Regions from separate parts of the Homo sapiens genome. Here region 1 is linked to region 2. The links are contacts of gene promoters, found by promoter capture Hi-C in blood cells and fetal thymus (Javierre and others, 2016). All regions are on one chromosome and are shown on one strand. The core of a region is centred on a gene start or on the middle of the fragment in contact, and the rest is flanking DNA. Distances in the headings are between cores, read along the strand shown.

The links. Contacts are between HindIII fragments. The CHiCAGO score rates a contact against its expected background, and 5 or more counts as called.
Region 1: a fragment that was not itself captured here is called in contact with the fragment with the promoter of RGS1 in region 2 in 4 of 17 cell types (non-activated CD4 T cells, total B cells, total CD4 T cells and 1 more); the score reaches 9.5 in non-activated CD4 T cells.

The regions. Positions count from the first base shown.
Region 1 is chr1:194,292,423-194,298,053 of GRCh38, forward strand. The region is part of intron 2 of LOC107985242 (a long non-coding RNA gene); the gene reads right to left. LOC105371670 (a long non-coding RNA gene) reads right to left here. Exons shown (of 3, transcript XR_922390.2): 2 at 1-6. Among named protein-coding and RNA genes, the nearest start is that of LINC01031, 990 kb to the left of the region's middle. The HindIII fragment of the contact is 3,033 bases long and covers 1-3,003 here.
Region 2 is chr1:192,571,199-192,577,046 of GRCh38, forward strand. RGS1 (regulator of G protein signaling 1) reads left to right here and starts at 4,575. Exons shown (of 5, transcript NM_002922.4): 1 at 4,575-4,731; 2 at 5,087-5,167; 3 at 5,576-5,637. The coding sequence starts at 4,595. The region is part of intron 3 of LOC105371664 (a long non-coding RNA gene); the gene reads right to left. RefSeq lists an enhancer at 4,420-4,499. The HindIII fragment of the contact is 3,705 bases long and covers 3,493-5,848 here.

The sequences.
Region 1 (5,631 bases), core at 237-2,736, 1.7 Mb after region 2:
GTAAGTCTGGAATATATACAAGTAATATTATCAATCACTAACTGTAAGTAAATAATTAATATTATTGTAAGGGCTATTATTTAATCTTTTAATCTACATATAGGATAGGTGTTTCATTTAACTTATAAAAATAATTATATAAAAATAAGAATTATTACTGCTTATACAAATTTTGAGGCTTTGCAATTCTGCTGCAGTAATATGGCTAAAAATAAATTGTACAAAGAAACACTTAAGGACATATAATGTGAAAGTATATGTGAATACAGTCAGAAATATTCTGGTAATGACTAGATATACGAATTTAGAGGATTGTTTTCCTCATCTTGTTAAGGTTTATTTGTTTATTTATCTTTATTTGTATTCAATAATCTTTAGTCCTAGAAAATTTTAGGGGAGAGTAAAAGAGAGTAAAGACATCCGTAAATTGTATGATTCATACTATGACCCAAAGACTGAGATCATCAGATATTGCAGAGAAAAAAAATCTTTTATTGAAACCCTCAAATAGTTTAGCCACAGTATAAACTGTAGAAGATGAAATGATGAACAAATATTCAATGCTCATACCCAAAAACAGGGGTTTTCAAGATTATTATGCTTCAGGATCACCCTGAGGGTGTGTTAACACACAGATCACTGGCCTTCACTCCATGCTCCCTCCTCCTGAGTGTCTGATTCAGTAGGTCTGTGATAGGGCCCAGGAATTTGCATTTCTAGTGAGTTACCAGTTGCTGCTAGGATAGAGACCACATGAGGGTCCTCCACCCAGGCTGTACAGTAACTCATCTCCGGAATATTTATCCCCTAAGTTCCTCGCATAATTTATTGTTGGGGAAAGCACTGTTGTTTTCTGAAGCTCTCCATATGAAAGGGCAGTCTCCAGGAATTATGTAAAACTTGAGTTGGGCATTGATATACGGATTGGGTCCACAAAGTTTTAAAAAAACACAAGAGGATATTTACTGATAACAATTACAGTTACATAGCATTTTCAACTTATAATGTATTTGCTTATGCTTTTTCTTGTTTAACTTTGGTCTTTACAACAACTCAATAAAGGAGGCAAGTATTATAATTTCTTTTCTTTAGAAAAGTGATCTGAAGCTCAGTAACATCCTTAGTTCATAACTTTTGTATGCATGTTTGCATAATTGAAATGAAAACATTCTGGCTGCAAGTTAAGTGATTATGGCTGTATACCCTATGCACCATATGCTTATTATGTCTATGAAACAGTAATGAGGCCAACATGGCCAGAAAGACTCCATTAGGCAGTAGTGAAAAAAATATGTAGGATATTTGGATAAAAGTAGATATGCGTAGGGTAGGACAAGACTATGGAATGTCTTGAAATCAAGTTAAGGAATTTGAAAGTTGTAGCAATCAATAAAATCAGTGTAAAATACTATCCTGCAACAGAAAGACGTGCAAATCATACACATATATAATATCTTACTATTTGGAATCTATTTTCTACTAACTTCAGGAATTGACTCACTCCAAAGCTGTAAAAAGAAAACAGAACATGTGTTTCTTCTAATTGGTACAGTCAGTCTCATTACAAATCCTGATCCCCAAAGTAGGAGGCTGGCGGGGGTAGAAAAGGAAAAGATACACAACTAAATTCCATGCAAGTTTTCATTCCAAGACTATTTTCTCCTGCTCTTCATTTTCTCATTAGGCATTGAGAAAAAAGTGTGGTCTTCTTGGCTGTGGGAGGCAGCATGGCTGGATCTCATGCTGGTTGCTGTGCTTTCTCTGCTGTGCTCTGTCTGGCCCAGCCCATCTGAGACACTGAGAGCTGTTGCTGAGGGCCACTGGCCTAACCACCACCTCTTCCCAGGCAAATGCACATTTGGACTGGTGTAACTTGTGGCCTGTTCTCTTTACATGAATAGTGCTGACCAACCCCTTCACTCATTCCTCATAGGTACTGTGGGCCCTACTAATGACTCTCTCACTTGGCTTACATAAGCTGCTCTCTAGCTTTTAGTAAAACATTACTATTCTTCATGGTAAAGACATCTGATAATCGTCTCCATCAGAGAAGATGACATCTTCCTCTTTGTCTTTCAGGAGATGTGCTAGGTTATGTCCACTTAGGAAGCAGGACCCAACATAGCACTAGACATACAAAAGACTTATTGGGGGAAACAACTGGTTGATGATAGAGGAGAGAGGCAGAGAAAGGAGGGTGAGCTTGCAGATCATGATGTGTAGGTTTGACCCCTGTGAAGGAGAAGGGAAGGAAGAGTTGGTGTGGAGAGTCTCAGACTGTAATGCGGTTCTAAGAAAATTTCTGCCAGTCATATAAAGAGTCATTGAGCTAAAGTCTTCCATTGGCAGAGTTGTGTGTCTCTCAGAAATTAGTCTGCATTATTACTACCAGCATGCCCAGTTGTTGGCTAGAAGGAGCCCAGGAAGGGTGGTCTCTATTTGAAAATGATGGATCCGAGGAAGGCAGCAGCAGTGACTATCGATTTTACCCCAATAATAGAGAACTGTGTGGTCTATTTTCTCGGCCACTGTAGGCGATGCTTCATACAACACAAATCTACTTCTATATGCAGGTTTTGGAAGCAGTTACTTATTGGGAGAGGCAGTTCACCATATCCCCCGAGCATTCCTGTATGTCCTTGTCAAGTGTGCCAAATTGCAAATGGCTAACCACTGTCTGACTGTGAGCAGTTTCTGTATCTAATTATGTGGCAACCAAATAGGTGAAGACCAGCACAGCATGGCTACTGTATAACTGTCCACTCACTAGAAAGGAAACTGTCATTTTTGCTGCCTGCCACAAAAGATGCTAGGTCTTCGGCCCTCAGTTCTTTAGCTGCATCACAATGCACTCTTTTAGTCTCATCTGGGATACTGAGATACCTTATGAGACTTGGAGAAGGGGAGAACTGATATAACCATGTTTATGTTTCTGCTGTGAGTATTAATATGCAGACTTCCTATTATTCGCCAAGTCTCACTGATGCCTTTGGAGTTGTGGCAAGCTTAGTCCTGCCTTTGTCTTTGAGGTTGGAGCACTTTCCTGACAGACACAAGGGGAGGGTTGTTGAGATATACAAACTTTTTTTTATTTTTCCCAGAGGAGAAAAGACAAGGGCCTTATGTGCCAGTTTCAGTGATATGAATTGCTCTTGCTCAAGTGTTGGAAGACAGTGGATGGGGCAGAATAAGTGGATCTTGAGTGCTGCACTAGTTAATAAATAGGAGTAAGTAAATAAATAGACTGAAAGGTAAGAGGTAGGATTGAAATAAGCAGCCCAAATGGTACCATGATTTTTGCTTGTTCTCCTATAAAAATGGAGACCGGGAAGTACTCTGGTCCAACATCAGGAAGGGAAATATAAACTACCTATGTCAAAAGGCAGGTGCATTTGCTTGATGTGTCTGGGGATTTACATAGGCTATGTCATAACAGAGGTTCCTCCATGGAGATTGGTCTCCTCCTACTGGAGGAACTGAGAAGTTAACTGGTTGCCCTAGGATAAATTAGCCTTTCAGCACCTCTCCTACCTGGCCCTGAACCACCACATCCTGATTTACTATCCTTTAGGGAGATTGTATAATAAAGGTAGATCCAAAGTCCCTCCAATTCCAGAGACCAAAAGCTTTAGTCATGGTAGGGACACAGTGGGGCAGGAGGGAAAGTGGAGTATACAAACATTTAAGGCTTTGTTTGGATAACAATGCTCAAGTGGCTGTATAATCCGGTTCTCTTGAGAGGACTGGACCACACATTCGATTTGCTATATTTGGAAAAAGAGGTATATGAGAGAATGGAAGTATCTGTATCTATATCCATCACATTTACTGTGCTGCTACAGGGAACTTGAAATGTCTTGTTATTGTGCCATTAATGAGTGGGTTAAGATGTGCAAGTGAGACTTCTTTCAGGGATGATTTGATGATATTATGATGATTGGCTCCACTAAAACCCAATAGTTCAGGGGTGACTCATTCATTCTGAGCCCTTGGAAATCACGTCTTTCTCAGGCTAGAGTTGTTATACATACTCATTCACAGTTATAAAGGAGCAAGGGACTACTAGGAGGCAGCCAAGTCAATCAACTGAAGTGCCTACACTTTCTTTCCCGAGTCATCTTTAAAAACAGTCCTACCTTATTGTGGTGATCAAGGTTAATTACCTTGACAAGATACTGACTCTTCTTTTTGAGTGCTGGTCCCAGAACCCAGGCAGTCAAAATTTCTCTGATTTGTCAAGACCTCAATGGCTTGTCCTTAATGAAACCTTTGCTGTGGTCCCTGGCAAGAATATGATCCAAGACCTTCAACCTTGCAGAATCAAGAAATATGAGGATAAAATCATGCAGTGAGTCATTGGGACTTAACGGAAGTGGGGCTACTTCTATTCCTACTCCTTGCTTTCTGCAGTGATCTGTTCTTCCCATTGAGGACAGAACACTATATGGGCGGGTGGTGGGTGGAGTGTTCTTTGACTTAATGGATATGCACAAAGGATAAAAATCCATCCTTGGAGAGTGTTGCCTCTGAGTTGGTGCTCCAATTCTGCCTCTAGAAGAATACTTCAATGTTCTTGGAGGATAACTAGTGGAGTGTGTGGTATATGATATAACCAGTGGATCTCACAGTCATGGGCCAACTCACACACCTCTGCACCATGAAGTGGGTTGCCTGTTCAGATGCTATTTTGTGTAGGATTCTGTGACTGTGCATGAGGCATTCCATAAGCCACTGAATAGTGTGCTGACTGGGGTTCTTCAAGAAGGAATGTCAAATCCCCACACAAACTGCTGGCACATCAAAGACAGAAAGGTCCCAATGTAGCTGACTTGCTGCCAAGTGTCATTTTAGTTTCCTTGAAATATAATGTCATGTTGACATAGCTACATTGGTCTCTGTTGCTGACAGGTTGAATCTTTAGGAGCGGCAGAAGCTACTCAACCTTTATAAATGGGAATTAATGCTGATGGGCCTATCACTGCAACCAGGGCCATTTTATTGATGTGCCATTTCACCAGTTCCAGCGCAGCCAATGATGAAAGCTGACTAATGTCAAGTAGTCAACACATTTGAATATTTCATCGTTGAGTGTCTCTTACGTAGTGAATGTTTTCTCATGGGTGTTAAAATGTGATACAAAAATCTTCACACTTTGTATACATTTCCATATGTCTGTTCATATGCTGCTACTCCAGACCTCCTTCATGTCTGGTCTCTCGATTGACATTACCATTGGGTATCTAGTAATCAATATAAATTCTCACCTTGGGCTACATATTTTTCTGAAAAAAAGTGAATGACCATTTGCCCTGGTTATCACTCTGTCTACAAGGAGGATTTTTCCTCACTGTTGTCTTTCAAGGCAATTTTTGGAAAAATGACATAACGAAGCAACAGTCCATTTTCAACTGATACCCACACATAGAGTCAATTAATGATAATACAAACGCAGGCCTTTTTTTTTTTTTTTTTTTTTTTTTTTACCTAATCCACCTGATAACAAGATTTCTCTCTGCTCATAGGATAAGCCAGGGGAAAGGAACTGGGGCAATTGTGGTGGGTGGCATGGAGGTCTGGGCTACCTGTGATGTAGCCTATGAAGGAGAAGAAGAGGGAAGAAGGATTGGATGG
Region 2 (5,848 bases), core at 3,325-5,824:
GGACAGGGGCCACACTCTCTTAAACAATCAGGTCTTGAGAGAACTTACTCACCATTGTGAAGACAGCACCAAGCTATGAGGGATTCTCCCCCATGATCCAATCACCTCCCACCAGGCCCCATCTCAAACATTGGGAATTACAATTCAACATGAAATTTAGAGAGAACACAAATCCAAACTATATCACCTTCCTTTCCAAATCCTCTACATGCAGATATTTGAGCACCTCCATCATTTTTGCATTTATGTCATTGTTATGTAACAGAACATTCTATCCCAACTCCAAATAATGTGTCAGTGTTCATTTAGCATAGCTCTCCATTTATTTGGGTTTGGGAATAAGGCACCTCCTTCCATACTTACGAAATTTTATTTGCAAAGCACAGTCTAGAGTCAGACATAACTACTCTCTCTTGTTGAAAGGATTATAAGTGATAGTGTGACATTAAATGAAAATAAATCCAATATGGAATAAGTATACCAGAGATAATATTATCAAAAGATTTCCTCAGTGCTTTCAAGAATGTCTTGGAACACGGGCCTATTATCAAGAACTTAACTGGTAAAATTAGATTTAGGGTGAATGAGGCTTATTGAATCACATAAGCTCAGTTCACTGAAGGTCCCACATACTATTTTCTTGTAAATTCTCAAATTATAGAAAGGAGGCAGTCAGTGTTGACTGAAAGATTGGAGCAGAGTGAGAAAAAGAAACTAGATTCTTATCTTGCTCAGTTGCACTTACTGAGATCATTGAAGTTTAGTGTGTTGCATATATTTGCTCTTATTAAAACCCATCATATTTCTTCACAACAAAATCATAAGCAAGTCTAAAATGTTTAAACTTTTCATTCACACGATATAAAGTTTTCACCAACCCTCTATACACATACAGAGAAAAATCCTTCTAAACTCACTTTTGTTGCAGCTTTTTCAAATTTTCAAATAAACTCTATGAAATTTAGCTGAAACACTTTTAGTAGCCTTATCTATAAACCTTGAAGACCAAGGAAGCTCTGAGTGGTTATGCTAATTCAACTAAGTCATTCAGAGTACTTTTGAAAGTTTGCAAAGCTTTGTGAGTACATATGGGATCCATTTTTCCATGATCCTTCAACATAAAACTGGTCTCTTACTAGAGACCAGTTTCTCCATTGCAGCCATTTGAACTTTCCAAGGGATGCTAAACACAAATGCAGAAACAAGCAAAGAATAGATACATGTTGATTTTACAGTAAAGACAGCAGTACTTTGCTTCCTTTCTCATACTTCCAGAGGTAATTACTCCTCTGTGTTCTTTTCTCTGTACATTCCTCTCTGATGGCACCTCTCACAAACATCTGTCAGCCCCACTACACAGTGAACCCCTTAAGACAGAGATTCATTCATCTTTGTATCTGCAGTGCTTTATGTGTGATACACTGTAGGGATGCAATTAAACTTTGTTGAATCGAAACATTTTGTTTCAATGGATCAAGCTATCTTTCCACGTCACTGACTTTTCCAGTATGGATACATTTTTATTTTAAAATAGAATATTATACTCATCATTACCCCTTGTCTCACAATTCTAATATCCACAATAAGATTTTAGCAACATTTTAAAAGTTCAAACAACATCAGGTTTAAGGAAAGCACTCCCTATTAGTATTCCAGTAATTGGAGTAATTGAAACCAAATGTTTCCATTCAAATCAGTTCAGCAAAGATTAAAATTTTCCTTATTTTTCCTATCAATATCAACAGCCATAATCTGAAATGTCTTACTGAACCAATCTCCTAGGTATTTTAAAATATAACACTGGGATTTTTAGGGAAGGAAAAGTATTCTGTATGGTACTATAATGATGGATACATATCATGATACATTTGTCAAACTCATGGAATGTACAGCACCAAGAGTGAACTCTAATGTAAACTATAGATTTTAGATGATAATGCTGTGTCACTGTAGGTTCATCAATTATAACAAATATTTCACACTAACGAGGTATGGTGCTGGAGGTGGAGCTGGAGGCAAGGTGAAAGGTGGGGAGTTGTGGGAACTCTGTACTTTCCACTCAATTTTACTGTAAACCTAAAACTTCCCTAAAAATGAAGTCCATTAATTTTTCTTTAAAAAAAAAGATAACACTAAGACTACATGAAGTATTCCTTTTCCTAGAAACTCAAACCTAGATGTTTTAGCACAGTTTCAAAGAGGGAAAACTGAAACCCAGATCGTGAGACCCACTGTTTCTTCTACTGACGTTTTTGAAATCCTCTACTATTTCAACCAAAGTCATTGATTCAATAAAGTTACAATTTGACAGTTTATCTTTTCTTAGTGAAGTTTACAAAGAGGGGCCAGATAGTGGCACTCTCTTTAAAATTAATAGGGAACTTTCAATGCCCTGCCATGCACTTGTCACACTTGCTGATACAACTTGACCAAATTTGCCTTGTTCTGGAACACACAGACTTTGGGTGGATGAGCAAACAGCCTCTGAGAGAGCAGCTGCTTTATTGCATGACTAAGGTGACCTCATCAGCCAATTGTGATACAGGAATTTTGAAAGGACTCCCTCTTTCAAGAGTTTATATTTCTATTCAAGTGTGGAAGCATGCAGTTGTAAATGCTTGCGCTTCAAAATGTATATTGGGATAGGGGTAGCAAAATGTTGGGAGCATCAGAGCAGTTCCTAAATACACTACAGGCAAAAACTTATTTTGATCTCAGACCAGAGTTTCTTAACATAGTGTCAAAAAAACACATTATTTCAAAAAACTATTTTCCCTATCTAAAGAGGGTTTAGTTCTTTAACAAGTTAGGAGTCCAACATTTCCCAAACTTACTTGGCCCCATAATTTTTGCTGCTGCTCTTGTTCTTTGGAAACTGTCAGTATATTTGGATGATAATACTAGTGGGCTGTTAAAAATAATTTTTAAATCATTTTACTCTAACATAACTTACTCACAATTATTTAGAGGAGTGAGAGGATACTAGATCAACAAACATGAGCAATGTTGAAGATTTTAACAGGAAATTAAGTATGGACTGAACCACAGGAAGTATACAACCAAATGCCTTTATGTCATCTGTCTTTGAGTTTCATCGGTCTCATTAGGGTCACTTCCAAAGTGGCCAGCTCATCTCACCAGTTATCTTTCTTAATGCCTTATGTTATCTTCCCAACATAAAATGATGCTTGTTACATACAATATAATGAGCTCATTATAATGAAATTAATGACTGTGTATAAGTGAATTTTATAATATTGTAAATGTGTTTTCTTCAAATATTCTTTATCCTGACGATAGAACCAGAACAGAAAAATTAATACTCCCCTCCCTTTTATCAGCTTTACCTAATACCATCAGAAGCTTCACTAAGTAAATGCTTTTTTGTCCTTTTAAAGGAAAGTATTGTCCTTCCAGGGGTAAAATCCAAGGAGGCTTAAGTTAAACTGGGTACTCTATAAATAAGCCACACTTGTTATATAAACTTTTGAAAGCTTATATTTTACTAACTTCTCTATCCTTATAAATGATTAGTCATCTAGTTCCTTGAGTTTTGTTTGTGTTTTAAACTTTAATCTCAATTAAAGCTAAAACTGTTATCTCTCCAGAGATACTGCCAAAATGTGAAAGATCATTACCTAAGAAGTACACATTATTGGTCTATCCAAATAGACTTTTATTTTACCTTGAGCAGTTTTTCCTCTGATACTGTGACCTTGGTATCAGTATGTTTACAAATTATGTCATATTTGTATACAATTAAACATTTATTTATTTATGATTGGTTTTAATTAAACTTTATTTTTTCCTAATATGCAAAATATGCAAAAATCAAAGTTTGATATACTAGTTATATTCTTAATAAATATGAAAATAATATTAAAAACCATGCACCCCTTAAAATCATCCTATGTATTGCCAGTCGATGTCTAGCACACACCTTGGAAAATATTAACATGGAAATTTCCTGCCATGGAAATAAGGGATGAGAATTGGAGTGGGAAAATGTGAAGATAGCCTCTTATAACTTTCCCTCCTATCAGATATGTGCAAAATAATTAAACAAAAATTATTTGTTTACTTTGCCCTGCTTCCTGCAGAAAAGAAGAGAACTCTTAAAATATTTTGATCAGATGAATTTTATAGTCAAGGACTATCCAAAGCATGGAGTAAGATACAACTCTATGTGATGAATTTCTATGTGAGTTTCTATATGATAAATTAATACGCCAAATGAAACAGTTTATTGAAACATGCAACTTTTTTAAAATAAACAAACATCCTCCAGAACCAAAGACTGATGCTGTTAATGCTTTAGACATGTGACATATGTGTGTGTACCTCTGTATGTTTAATTTTCTTTCTTTCTAATCAAGTGACCTGTTCTCGTTTGGTTAAGTTTCAACCACAAGACACCACTGTATGCTTTTTTTTTTTCAAGATACACGTCACAGCACACCAAGAAAAGGGGAACTTCCAGTGTCTGTGGTAACATCACTTGATAAACAGACTCCTTTAAACAGCAAGTGCCTGTCTGCATTCTACTATATAAAGCAGCAGAGACGTTGACTAGCGCATATTTGCTAAGAGCACCATGCGCGCAGCAGCCATCTCCACTCCAAAGTTAGACAAAATGCCAGGAATGTTCTTCTCTGCTAACCCAAAGGAATTGAAAGGAACCACTCATTCACTTCTAGACGACAAAATGCAAAAAAGGAGGCCAAAGACTTTGTAAGTTTGTTCAGAGTCTCACTTTGTGAATTTTAACAAGTTATCTTTAATGGCAGAAGGATTGAGAATGAATGGAAGAGAGTGTGAGCATTTAGTTTAGCCAGATCAGAGGAGTTAATTGCCTGTTGTGAGTAATAAGTAATATTCAGCTGCATTAAAAAATAAATCTTGATATGGCATTAAATTGGGTAGGAGTTTTTCTCTACACAGGCTCATAAAAATGGGTTCTATAGCAAAATGTTGTATCAACCATTTTTAGTATTGCCTTATTCCTTAGAGAAATTTATTCTATGTCTTTTTACAAATAAAATGAATTCTGAAGAAATATGAATATTCACTTTTATGTCTTTTGTAGTGGAATGGATATGAAAGCATACCTGAGATCTATGATCCCACATCTGGAATCTGGAATGAAATCTTCCAAGTCCAAGGATGTGTAAGTACACTAATACACTAAACTATCATTATCATTTACAAGAGAAGCCTATGCATTATCTCTATATCCCAGCAAGGGATAAATACTGCGCACAGTAGACTTCATTTCTTTTAAGTAACATGCCAAATAAAATTAGACTATCAGTACCAATGTAAATTGAATACAAATGTGTACACACACATATTGGACTTTATCTATTTGGATTTTTTCAAATTTTATTGGCAGGTTTTTTTTTTCATAACTATAGTAACTCTAAGGGAAGTTTTGCATTTTGTGAATAAATTTTAACATATTTATTAGAACTACAGTTTCAGTTTGTGAAGTTATCAAAGTGTAACAGCCATTCTTATTTCATTTGTGCTTACATTTTAAAAATTGACTAATGTATGTACATTTTGTCCCCTGCAGACTTTCTGCTGCTGAAGTAATGCAATGGTCTCAATCTCTGGAAAAACTTCTTGCCAACCAAAGTAAGTATAACTATTGAATGTTTCTGGGTTCAGCTAAATACTCTAAAAAATTGAATGGCTTCACTAAATATAGTATTCTGGGTAGGATAGTATGCAAAAGGTTGTATTCTAGTTTGTCTGTAGTTACTGATAACTTCAGCATAGTATGCCTCTTAATAATGCTGACTTAGCACTCAATTCTGCCAACTCCTTTTAGACAAATTTGCCAAGA